3 separate regions of the Homo sapiens genome follow, and regions 1 and 2 are each linked to region 3. The links are contacts of gene promoters, found by promoter capture Hi-C in human tissues and cell types (Jung and others, 2019). All regions are on one chromosome and are shown on one strand. Each heading gives the region's core, a stretch centred on a gene start or on the middle of the fragment in contact. The rest is flanking DNA. Distances are from core to core; before and after follow the strand shown.

Region 1 (3,833 bases), core at 1,191-3,690, 310 kb before region 3:
TGATCCAAGAGAGAGAAAAGCAGAGCCCACAATATCTTTTATGGTCTAGCTTCAGAAGCCACACCCTGTCATTTCTGCTATGCCCTATGGGTCCCACAGGTCAGCCCTAGTCAGAGAGGACAAAGGGTCTGAATATCAGGAAGCAAGAATCACTGGGACCGTCTGTGTGCTACCAAATCCTGTGTTCCTTGTCTTGGGAGAATGGCGACACCTCTCACTCTGTCTCCAAATCCACAGACCTGAGAATCAAACTTGACTCCTTTGTTCCTCATTCTGCCGCTACATCTGGTCAGTCAGCAAATCCTGACATTTCTGCCTCCTGAGTCTCTGGAATCTTCCTCTGCCCTTCATTCTCACTTCCAACGTAGCAGCTCCTAACTGCTTCCCCCTTGGTCCATCTTCTATTCTGTGAAGAGAGGGAGCTTCCTTTTCTCTTTGAAAGGAAGTTACTTACTTTCTGATTACAGAAGTAATGCAAACCTTGCAAGCATTTGGGAAACACAGAATAGTATTTAGATGTAATGGAAATACTACCACAATCCCAAACTACTGTAAATTACATGCACGTGTACACACCTGCACACTCCCAGCCTTCTTTCTAGGTAAGCCTGTGTATATGTGTGTGCACAGATAGACTTATCCAATTTCAAATGTATTGTGATCAGACTCTATGTGGTTTTATTTTGCTTTTACAATTCAACTTGGCATAAACATTTTCCTATGTTATTAAGACTTCTTCCAAAATGTATTGATGACTCCATAAAATACACCAAATATATGCACTATAGTTTATTTAACCTGTTCCCGAGTGTCTGTGAGTATATCACTGTATTTGATTTTTCATGTTATAGATAACTCTGTGATGAACGTCTTGTACAGGTATTTTGACATGTCTGTTTATTTTTGGGGGGTAAATTCTTAGAAGAATGATTGGTCAAGTGTATGAATACTTGAAAGGCTTTTGATGTTTTGCCAAATTACCCTCTGGGAGTGTGTGCTTATTTACAACAGGCTGGCAGGGTACACAAATTTCCTTCTTCCCACACTCTGGCCCCCATTACATTCTGAGCTTTGAAGCATGATTTCAAATTACATTCACGTAAAAAACTAGACGCCAGGCTCAGTGGCTCATGCCTGTAATCCCAGCATTTTGGGAGGTCAAAGCAGGAGGATCGCTTGAGCCCAGGAGTTCAAGACTAGCCTGGGCAGCATAGTGAGATCCTGTCTCTAAAAAAATTAAATGAAATTAAAAAATTAAAACCTAGAAAATGAAGAAAATCATAAAGAGCAATGTTAAAAATACAGCAGCTTCACCCAGAGAACAATTGTTGACATTTTAGTATATATTATTTCTGTTCTTTTGTGAGTGTATGTATCTATGCTTGTGGGTGCATATCTGTATGTGTGGATATATGTGTGTGTATACACACATATACATAGACTTTTTTGAAGTATTTAGGTTGAACCATAAGAAATTGGTATTTTTAGGCAAAAAATTATTGAATAGAGGCAATTTCACATGAGTCAGGCTAATATATTTACATAATTGAAATCAAATTGTATGTACAGTTTTATCCTAATGTTTCTTCATGTAGTAATTTATAAGGAACATTTTCAGTGTCCATAAATATCATTGGCTATATGATTTCTGATGAGTGTATCTCACCCCGTCATAGGAATGTGTCATCATTTGTTTAACCAAATAACTATTGTTGGATAGTTAGGGGATTTCCAGCTTTCTGTTGCATTTTTGAAAGTTTATAAGGTTATTAAAATGAGAATAATGCAAAGAATATCCTTGTAGATATCTTTTTGGCACATCTCTGAATATTTCTAGAAAGAGAACAAGATGAAGGTTAGGAATGTTGCCTCCTTTAGAAAGGGTGTGGAATTATCCTTAAAAATAAACCAACATGCAAACCAATAGATAACTTTATCAGTTTGGCAAAACAACATTGGTCATGCAAAATGGTTTTCTCATCGTTTTGATTTGAATTCATCTCATCACGAATAAGATTGAGTATCTTCCACTTTTCAACCTTCTGTAGATGTTCTTGGTATGTGAAGGCGATTAGTCCTTTTCAATCATGTTAGTTGCATGTTATCTTCCTAGTACATGGCCTTCTTTATAATTTTGTTTTTAACACAAAGAAGTTTTTTGTTTGCTTGTAGGCAAATCTCCTTTTCCCGTATAATTTCTTTTGCTTTTATGCTTCGAGACTTCTTCCTTATCCTGTGATAGGTTAAATATCCACATTAATTTTCTTCTAATTTTTACTTAACTTTTTTTTTTTTTTCCCCTTGAGACAGAGTCTCACTCTGTCACCCAGGCTGGAGTACCATGGCGCAATCTTGGTTCACTGCAACCTCCACCGCCTAGGTTCAAGCGATTCTTCTGCCTCAGCCTCCCAAGTAGCTGGGATTATAGGCACATGTCACCATGCTCAGCTGATTTTTGTATTTTTAGTAGAGACGGGGTTTCATTATGTTGGCCAGCCTGGTCTTGAACTCCTGGCCTCAAGTGATTCGCCTGCCTTGGCCTCCCAAAGTGCTGGGATTATAGGCCTGAGCCACCATGTTAACTCTTTACAATCATCAGGAGGCCCTATCTAATTTTTTTTCCTCCCAATCCTTGATGTTCCTGGTACCATTTGTTACATAACCATTCCCTTTCCCATTGCGTTGTAACCCAGGGCCACTGATTGGCACAGCGTGGGGCACCACTCTCCTTGTGCCCAGCCCTGCGCTCCAGCGGGTGCTGTCTCATAGAGGACACACGGTGCCCTCTCCTTCACCTGCAACTCTTGGCAATTTGGCCCTAGCCAGATTTTGAATGTTTGAGAGCAGGAGCTATGAGTAAAGGAATAAGTGAATAAATAAATTGAGCAGGGATCTGCTCATTTGGCCACAAAAAGTGCTGTTAGAGGGAGTAGTGTCCATTGTCAGTGCCCAGCACTGAGTAGGCACCTTACAAATGTAGACATCCTTCCCTTTTTGACACGGGGAAACCTAAAGCTAAATGTAACATTCAGTTGCAGTAATTCCAGGAATCATTACACCCTCTGCACCCAGTTTCCTTTTTATTAGCTTTTACTTATTTCTCTTTTGATGATCTTATTGGATATGTGCAATTTAAGATAAAATGCCCCCCAGATTTCCTTGGAAGTAGACATGCTATAAGAATCTAGTGAAGAATAATAAATTGTGGTAATATGTGTTGTGCTATTTTTTCAACTATTAAAACAATTTAAAAACAAGAAAAAATGAGCCTCAGTTCTTCATTTTGTAGAGCGATAGTACAAAAAATTTTAAATATTTTGATTTATTTAAAAATTTTTCTGATTATAGGCTGGCTTTTTCCCCTAAAATTTCATAACTGGATATTTAGTTTTGTGGTCTTAAAATAATTTCTTTGATGCCACCGTGGTGGTTCATCTGTAGTACATTCGAATTATCAAAGCACCCAGACCTTCATAGGCTCTCTTGCCTTTAGGAAGCTCCCCAGGACAACCTGGCATCATCACCTTCTGTGCCTCCATCCACGGGCATTTGGCAATCCGTGCAGAGGGTTTTTAATGTGGTTCCTGGACCCACGCTCCAGGATCAGCTGCAAACTGATTCAAATTCAACCTTCCTGGCCTCACACACACAGGTTCTAATTTGGTGGGGCCAGATGGGGTTCAAGAGTGAATGTTTGGCTAAGGGCGGTGGCTCATGCCTGTAATCCCAGCACTTTGGGAGGATGAGGTGGGAGGATCGTTTGAGGCCAGGAGTTTGAGGCCAGCCTGGTCAACATGGTGAAACGCTGTCTCTAATAAAAATACAAAAATTAG
Region 2 (4,208 bases), core at 1,008-3,507, 450 kb before region 3:
TCAAGAAGTGAAATTACCATTCGGAATGAAAAAACATTTCTGTCTTGAAACTAGAGAAATTAAGTGGCTTTCAGGAAAAAATGTGGCAGAAATAGAAACTGTCAGCCAGGCACAGGGGCTCATGCCTGTCATCCCAGCACTTTCGGAGGCTGATGCGGGAGGATCACTTGAGCCTAGTTTGAGACCAGCCTGGGCAACATGGTGAGACCCCAGTCCTGCAAAACAATTAAAAAATTAGCCGGGTGTGGTGGTGTGTGCCTGTGGTTCCAGTTACATGGGTGGCTGAGGCAGGAGGATTGTTTGAGCCTGAGAGGTCGAAGCTGCTATGAGTTGTGATTGTGCCATTGCACTCCAGCCTGGGCGACAGAGAGGGGTCCCTGTCTCCGAAAAAAAAAAAAATTGGGAAATGAACCAGACATTTAATGAATATCTGTTGTTTAATTTAACATACCATAAAACTTTAAGATTTTAAATTACATAAAAAGCTTATTTATAAACACATATACCATTTACATTTACAAAATTTATTTATTTTTAACAATTATACCTAGATTACTTATTAAAACTGAGATATTAGACAAAGCTAGTCATCAGTTATTTCTCTGTTAACCATTTTTATAGCCTGTGCATATCAGGTGTTCACCTAAGAACCTTAAATATATGGTTATTTTGTCAATAACTCAGAAGATACAGCTATTTTTATTAAACCAACAATATTAAATTAGTCTTACTTATCAAAGAGTTGTACAAAAAATCATTTTATTTTAGGCTGTGTTTATAGTTTTATAATCTTTGTGCTAAACCCTAATACCTTAAAACATCTAATGAAGACCAATATAAAACTGTCTGCCACAAAACCCATGCAACAGTATATTAATATGTTGGCAATTGTGCAGACATTTTTATTTTTTTCAACAATTTAAAAGCTAGTTTATTTATTAAAGACATTCTTAAGTCACATGAACTAAAACGCATTCGGGTTAATTAATATAGAGAGCAAGTTGGCACTTAATGTCATTAGTAGGTTCTTGGAAACTGTGACTGGGTGAAACAACGTCCAACAGGTCCTCAAATGATGTCACTTTGTTCAATGCTGTTTCATTATTTTTATTTTTTTTTTGAGACGGAGTTTTGCTCTGTTGCCCAGGCTGGAGCGTAATGGCACCATCTCAGCTCGCCAGAACCCCCACCTCCCGGGTTAAAGTGATTCTCCTGCCTCATCCTCCCGAGTAGCTGGGATTACAGGTGCCAGCCACCACGCCTGGCTAATTTTTTTATTTTATTTTATTTTATTTTTTGAGATGGAGTTTCGCTTTTGTTGCCCAGGCTGGAGTACAATGGCCCGGTCTTGGCTCACTGCAACCTCCACCTCCCAGGTTCAAGTGATTCTCCTGCCTCAGCCTCCCGAGCAGCTGGGATTACAGGCGCCTGCCACCACGCCCGGCTAATTTTTGTATTTTTAGTAGAGACGAGGTTTCACCATGTCGGTCAGGCTGATCTCGAACTCTTGACCTCAGGCAGTCCGCTCACCTTGGCCTCCCAAAGTGCTGGGATTACAGGCGTGAGCCACCGCGCCTGGCCATTTTTGTAGTTTTAGTAGAGATGGGATTTTGCCATGTTGGCCAGGCTGGTCTCGAACTCCTGACCGCAGGTGATCCACCTGCCTCAGCCTCCCAAAGTGCTAGGATTATAGGCGTGAGCCACTTCGCCTGGCCAATGCTGTTTCATTTTAACATTGATGAGGAAAAAAATTGGCTTCATTATACATTGTTTTGCTCAAAGTCACAGTTTCCAACAACCTATTCACAACATTAAGTCAGGACTTACTATATTTTATATGAAAGCTCATTTAAACCAATCTGAATAGAATTTAAGGGTCCATGCTAGATCTTACCATGAAGACACAACATAAAACATAATACACGTACATGTGTAAATGCACCGAAACAAATATCCACACACAGAAATATCTTACAGCTTTCATTTTAGAATGTTAGTCATGAGACAGTAAAAGATAATAAAACACAGCTGGATCCAAATTGTATTATTGACAAAGTTGAAACCTGTTCACATGTCTGAACTTTATTTGCCCCGATAGGTAATCTAATGAAGATGGTGGGCGAAGATTTTGGACAAAGCAGTTTGGTTTTTAAAAATCTCTTTTACTCCCACTCTTTTGCTTTTTTCAGCTTTAAATGAGTTTAGGGTTACATTTTCAATGTTTACATTTTAGCTAGGACTGGCTGAATTATATAAGGAAAACAAACTCTCCAAAGAGCCTTGAACTAGTAACAAATGTATCTTTTGTTTGCCCATCTGGTTTGCTTGGTTAATGTGAACAGGGAAGAATGTTAGCAGGGTTTCCTTCCTGTGTTTGTTTGGCTTTTTCTTTTTGGCCCCTGTGTGGCAGAAAAAGCAATTTTATGCCAGACAGAGACACCTTATATTATTGCTCTGAGCTCAAGATTTTGACTTGTTTGATCTGTGAGCCTTTTATGAAGATTTATCTAATTTTTTCTTTATCAATCCTTCAACTAACTTCCATTACCCCAAACAATTATTAGTCAGGCAAAACTAAATTAACCTTAAAAGAGATGATCCTTAGGCCTAGGTTGTTGGTTTTGGTTTAAAAAATCTTGGCTGGAATGCCATAAGCAGTGAGTTTTATCTCAACTCCAGTAGAAAAGTCAGCAGATTTAAAGTAAGCAGAAAAAAATAGAGATAGAGAATTTAGAAGACTCTACATGCTAACTGTATAGTTTCAGAGGTGTTTTTAGAGAATTCAGATAATGATCATTTGAGTTCTGAATGTTTCATGATGTAATTTGTCTATTAGCTTAAAAATGTGCGTGAAAAGAAGCCATAATATACAGCTAGCTGGAGTCCCAGAAGACTTGAGAGAATCCCATTGACTTGACTTGAGAATCCCATTCTGCTTTTTATTAATCTCTCAGGAGCAAAGGAAACCCTATAAATTCTGTCAGCGAATGTCAGGAGTTTGGACAATGTTTAGATGGCGGCTTTTAACTAGCCATCGTGCGCCCACCGTTTAGAATGTTTTTCTCTTGGAAGATTTTTCAGAAACAAGCAAGGGAAAAAAGACGAATCATTTATAGACACATAACTAAACCAAAATCAGTGTAGTCACAAGCTTTAACTCAGCATGCAGATCAAACAAAATATTAAATTAGACATGCAGAAAGAAGCAAAAGTAAATTAACCAGAAAAGACACGTCTCAGAGACAGAATGTCAATTCTGCAGAAACCAGAGTACTCAAACCAGCATGTCTTTCTACCAACAAGGACTTTTCAGAAAAGACAAAAAAGTCTTTTATCATCCCAGTAGGGATGTAAGGCAGCCTTATAACCAAAACGAATCCAGAATAATATGAAAAAGCTGCTACCAAAAAGAGGGAGCGTGGGCCTGAGAGAAGAGTCGCCTTGGCCAAAAAGGCAAGCTGTGCCAGCAGAGTTCAGAGGGCTCAAGTGAGTACCACACACCCGTTCTAAGAATCATCACTTCCTTCCCGTAGTGATCCTTTTCCCGATTCCATTTCTGACACATTTGCGTCAACCTAAATAACAAACAAAGAGGCTCTCTAAAAGAAATGATATTTATCCAGGAATAGGGCATTGCAATGGGAATATATGTGCCATAGTGAACTATGTGCCTTTTCAGGGAGGTATAGAAAGATGAAGGTTTTTAAAGGAACAATGGGGAGGATTACATAATTGTTTTGAGTTAATTATTCTTGGCTACAAGGATCACTCACAAGGGGGATGCCAGTCTCGCGTTGGACAGGCAGTTACTGGGCAGATGTCCTCGCAAAAGTGTAAGATTGCGATGGTCTTTGTGCAAGGTTATGGTTTTTATAGTCTTTTGTTATGGTTTTTGTTATCAAGCATTTATGCACGAGAATCCTCTTCATGGTGTTCTCTGGCTCTATTTGTCAGGATTGTTTTTGGTATTTTTTTTGAGATGGAGTCTCGCTCTGTTGCCCAGGCTAGAGTGCAGTGACGCCATCTTGGCTCACTGTAACCTCTGCCTCCTGGGTTCAAGTGATTCTCTTGCCTCAGCCTCATGACTAGCTGGGATTACAGGCACCTGCCACCACACTCAGGTAATTTTTGTATTTTGTTGGCCAAGCTGGTCTCAAACTCCTGAGCTCAAGTGATCCGTGCTCTTCAGCCTCCCAAAGTGCTGGGAT
Region 3 (3,939 bases), core at 483-2,982:
AAAAAAAAAAAAGAAAAAAAAAAAGGCTTATGTTTTGTTTTTTTTCTTTCCTATGTATGTTTGAATATTTGCAACTGTTCATGGATGTAAAAACACAAACTGCCGTCCGGGCGCGGTGGCTCACGCTTGTAATCCCAGCACTTTGGGAGGCCGAGGCGGGCGGATCACTTGAGGCCAAGAGTTTGAGACCAGCCTGGCCAACGTGGCAAAACCCTGTCTCTACTAAAAATACAAAGATTAGCCGGGGGTGGTGGAGGGCGCCTCTAGTCCCAGCTACTTGGGAGGCTGAGGCAGGAGAATCGTTTGATCGGGGAGGAGTGGGGGAGGGGGGCGGAGGTTGCAGTGAGCGGAGATCGCGTCATTGCAGTCCAGCCTGGGCGACAAGAGCGAAACTCCGTCTCAAAACAACAACAGCAACCACCACCACCACCACCACCACCACCACAAAAAACCAATCTGTGGTCCTGCATGGAAGAATAATCTTACTCCTGCTCAAAGCCTGCCGAAGAGATTTACTCGGCTCCCATTTTGGATATGCTACTGTTGGATATCTTTGCACCGCGGTCTCCTCATCTGCATAATGGAGTTATAAAATCAACTTCACAGCACTGTGGATTAACTAAGAAAACGTATTTGAATGCCCCCCGTAAGGTGCTCAGCACGTAGTTGGCCCTCAATACACACTGGTACAATTCAAACTTTGTGAAATGAGCCAATTCGTGTACATGTTAAGGACCACGGCAGCAACTCATATCACTAAAAGTTAACTGATGCCCAACCCATGCCCCTTCCTGCTTCACTCCTCCACACCACGGGAGATTCCTTAGGGCAGAACTTTTATTTCGGCAGAGTGCAGCCAAGGGAAGACAGCATAAGCAGCTTTTTTGCCAGGGCGAAGGGGCCAGACCCCGGCCTGGGGATGGGGTGCAAGTATGGACCACACAGGGGCTGGCTTGGTCACTCACGGCTGCGTCAGGCTGTCCCGGTAACGGCTGCGCTGGCAGGGCAGTGCTCGGGGCCGGCTGGTGTAGGTGTAGGTGCTCGGGGCCCGAGAGGTGCGATCAGTCAGCGCTGAGGCCATGTCCGGGGGCTGACTGCCTCGCTTTCGGTGGAGCTTGGCTTTGAAGCAGGTGGGCGCTAAGGTGTTGTGGGACCCGGAGAGATGTAAGTAGTGCCAAGGGCAAGGATTCCGCGACGCGAGGAGAGGCGACAACAAGGGAGGCGGGCGGGACGGGAGGTTACCAGCGCAGGAGGTGGGAGCTATACTGGGCTCGCTCCCAGCACCACAGAGACCAGCTGCGGGGGCCGCATCGGTTGCCCAGCAACCCAGGGTTCTGTCTGGGGGCGGGAACTCCGGGCAGTTCCGGTCCCCAGGTTTCCCGGGAAGGACTGCGGCACAAGGGACTTCCGGCTCTTGACTCCGCCCAGCCGCGCCACCCAGGTAGGTGCGCCTGCGCTTTGCGAGGTTCCTGGCTAGGGAGGCGGCCTTGGCTGGCTTGACCGTCATCCTTGAGGCCTGCGGGGCAACGGTGGCTGTCCTTGGCCCGGCTTTGGAATGTGGCTTTGCAGGGCTGGTGTTGGCGCCATTCTCGCAGGCCCACGTGCTCCTGCTCTTCCAGGGTGTCCTCGGCTGTTTCTCCTGCCGCGGCGCAGCAGCGCTCCCAGGCTGCCCCCGCGATAACACGCCCCTGGCAGCCAGGCTCCCAGCTCTGTTACGTGCCCGGGCGGGGAAGAGCTTCCTGGTGTCTCCCGGCTCCTGCCCTTCTCCCGCCCCAGGGGCGGGCTGCCGCCGCCCTCTGCAGCTGAGTCAGTGCAGTTCCTCACCTACCTTCTCTGCTCACCGCTGTGTGCTAGCAATCGGAGGACCCTTGGCACACGGAGCGACAGGGGCCTCCCCCACAGACACCTCATTTTGGGAAAGAAGTGAGCAATTTATTGAGTCTTAAAAAATACAAAGGCATAGTTCCCCTTAATCTATCAGGCTTCCAGCTCTAAAGAATGTCTCTAGTATTGCGGGGTGGGGCTGCGCTTAAAAACGCAGACGCTTTGGTTTTAGTACCAGCAACGTTAAAAATCTTCTATCTTGTATGAGTGAATGTGTATCCCTTGTGATCAGTTATTTGCATTTGCAGTTACACCTTCATTCAGCTAATTGCTGTCTTGATTTGAATCCAGGTTCTAGAATGTACTAGCTCCGAAACCTCAGGCAAGTTAAATGTTTTTGTGCTTCATTTTCCTAATCCACAAAGTGGCAATAGAAGAATTTATCTCTTTAGGTTTTGTCTTGAGGATTAAAACCGTTAATACTTAGAGCTGTGCCTGGTAAATGGCAAGCCTTTATATTAAGATCTGGACCGTTCTGTGCTTTGAAGTGTATGACCTAAAGCAGATGTAGGCATTCTATAAGTAACACTAGCATAAAGGTGTATGGTAAATTCTAGAGGTGAAAACACTCCCAACATATTTTAGGTCTGATCATTTAATTTTGAGGTAATTTCTGAAAGGGCTAGAGGAGAAAGTGACATTTAAGTTGTGTTTGATAAATGATAGTATTTTAACTGGCCAGCCTCTTGGGGGAAGTGCATTCGGAATGGCTTGATCAAAGGCTCAAGAAGCCCAAGGTGCATTTGGAAAACTGTAAGCAAGGTTTGTGTAGATGAGTTGTAGAAATATATATAGACAGGCTGACACCACATCGTGGAAACAGTAAACACTAGCATATTAATTAGAATATTTTTTCCCTCAAGTAACAAAAAACCAATTCCAAGTGGCTGAAATAATAAGGAATTCATTATTTTACACTCCCCAGGTTGGTTAACCTGGAGGGTAACTTGGGGGCTCAGCACATTATCAACAACACGTTTTTTCCCCTACCTTTCCACTCTGTCACCTGGGTTGTTGGCTTCAACAAAGTAGTAATAGAAGTATCTGCTCTTTTGTCTTTATTGGAAGAGCAAAACCCCCTCGTAAACTCCCAACTGACCAGAATTACATCATATTGATTTAAGCTTAGGATCTATATAAGACCACCATATTTGGATTAGACCAGGTAACCGGTCTTTCTAGGCCTCCAAGAAACACTTGGCCAGGGAGGAGGAGAACAAATTCTGTTAGGAGGATGTTGGGGCAGAATTGAGTGGGTATTAAGTGGGTAAACAATAGTGCTATACCAGCCACAGTGGGCTTTATAAAGAAATTGATAGCCACTATAGGTTCTTGTACAAGTTTCTTTCTTTTTTTTTTTTTTTAGATGGAGTCTCGCTCTGTGGCCAGGCTGGAGTGCAGTGGCGCGATCTTGGCTCACTGCAACCTCCGCCTCCCCGGTTCAAGTGGTTCTCCTGCCTCAGCCTCCTGAGTAGCTGGGACTACAGGCGTGTGCCACCCCGTCCAGCTAATTTCTGTATTTTTAGTAGAGGCGGGGTTTCACCATGTTGGCCAGGATGGTCTTGTTCTCTTGACCTGGTGATCCGCCCTCCTCAGCCTCCCAAAGTGTTGGGATTACAGGCGTGAGCCACTGTGCCTGGCCTGTACAAGTTTTTATCCACAGCCTGTTTCTCTTCTTGTACTTTCTCCCAGGGCAGTCCCATTTCACGTCTGTAATTTCTAGTACCACCTATATACTCAGGGTAGCAAAGGATGTATCTCTAACCTAGACTTCTCCCTCAGGTGACAGTCCTGGATATCTGACTATTTTGTGGACAACTCTTGGATGATCTGAAACTGAAAGATTCATTCCACAAATAGTTATGTGTATCTAGTATGTGCCAAGCATTGTTGTTTTCTTGTCCCTCGTCCCCACTCCCCTGGTGTTAGTGGGGATATAGCAGTGAAAAACAAAAACAAACAACAGATTAAAAGTCCTGCCTTGACAGAATTTATATTCTAGTGGAGGAGTCATACAAACAAGAAAAGTGAGTACATTATGGGTGTTACATAATT

What was found. Contacts are between HindIII fragments. The study calls those that stand out against the background at their distance.
Region 1: a fragment that was not itself captured here is called in contact with the fragment with the promoter of RSPH3 in region 3 in 2 of the 25 tissues and cell types used here (H1 embryonic stem cells and dorsolateral prefrontal cortex).
Region 2: a contact is called between a fragment that was not itself captured here and the fragment with the promoter of RSPH3 in region 3, in 1 of the 25 tissues and cell types used here (spleen).

What each region holds. Positions count from the first base shown.
Region 1 is chr6:158,687,369-158,691,201 of GRCh38, forward strand. The region is part of intron 6 of SYTL3 (synaptotagmin like 3); the gene reads left to right. Among named protein-coding and RNA genes, the nearest start is that of SYTL3, 39 kb to the left of the region's middle. The HindIII fragment of the contact is 5,101 bases long and covers 1-3,833 here.
Region 2 is chr6:158,552,805-158,557,012 of GRCh38, forward strand. It overlaps a transcript of TMEM181 not described here. Among named protein-coding and RNA genes, the nearest start is that of TMEM181, 5.2 kb to the right of the region's middle. The HindIII fragment of the contact is 5,216 bases long and covers 1-4,208 here.
Region 3 is chr6:158,998,470-159,002,408 of GRCh38, forward strand. RSPH3 (radial spoke head 3) reads right to left here and starts at 1,733. Exons shown (of 8, transcript NM_031924.8): 1 at 966-1,733. The coding sequence starts at 1,081. It overlaps TAGAP-AS1 (TAGAP antisense RNA 1), which reads left to right and starts at 1,404. Exons shown (of 5, transcript NR_183546.1): 1 at 1,404-1,923. RefSeq lists enhancers at 476-1,447, 932-1,081, 1,102-1,151, 1,182-1,251, 1,422-1,581 and 2 more. The HindIII fragment of the contact is 9,808 bases long and covers 1-3,663 here.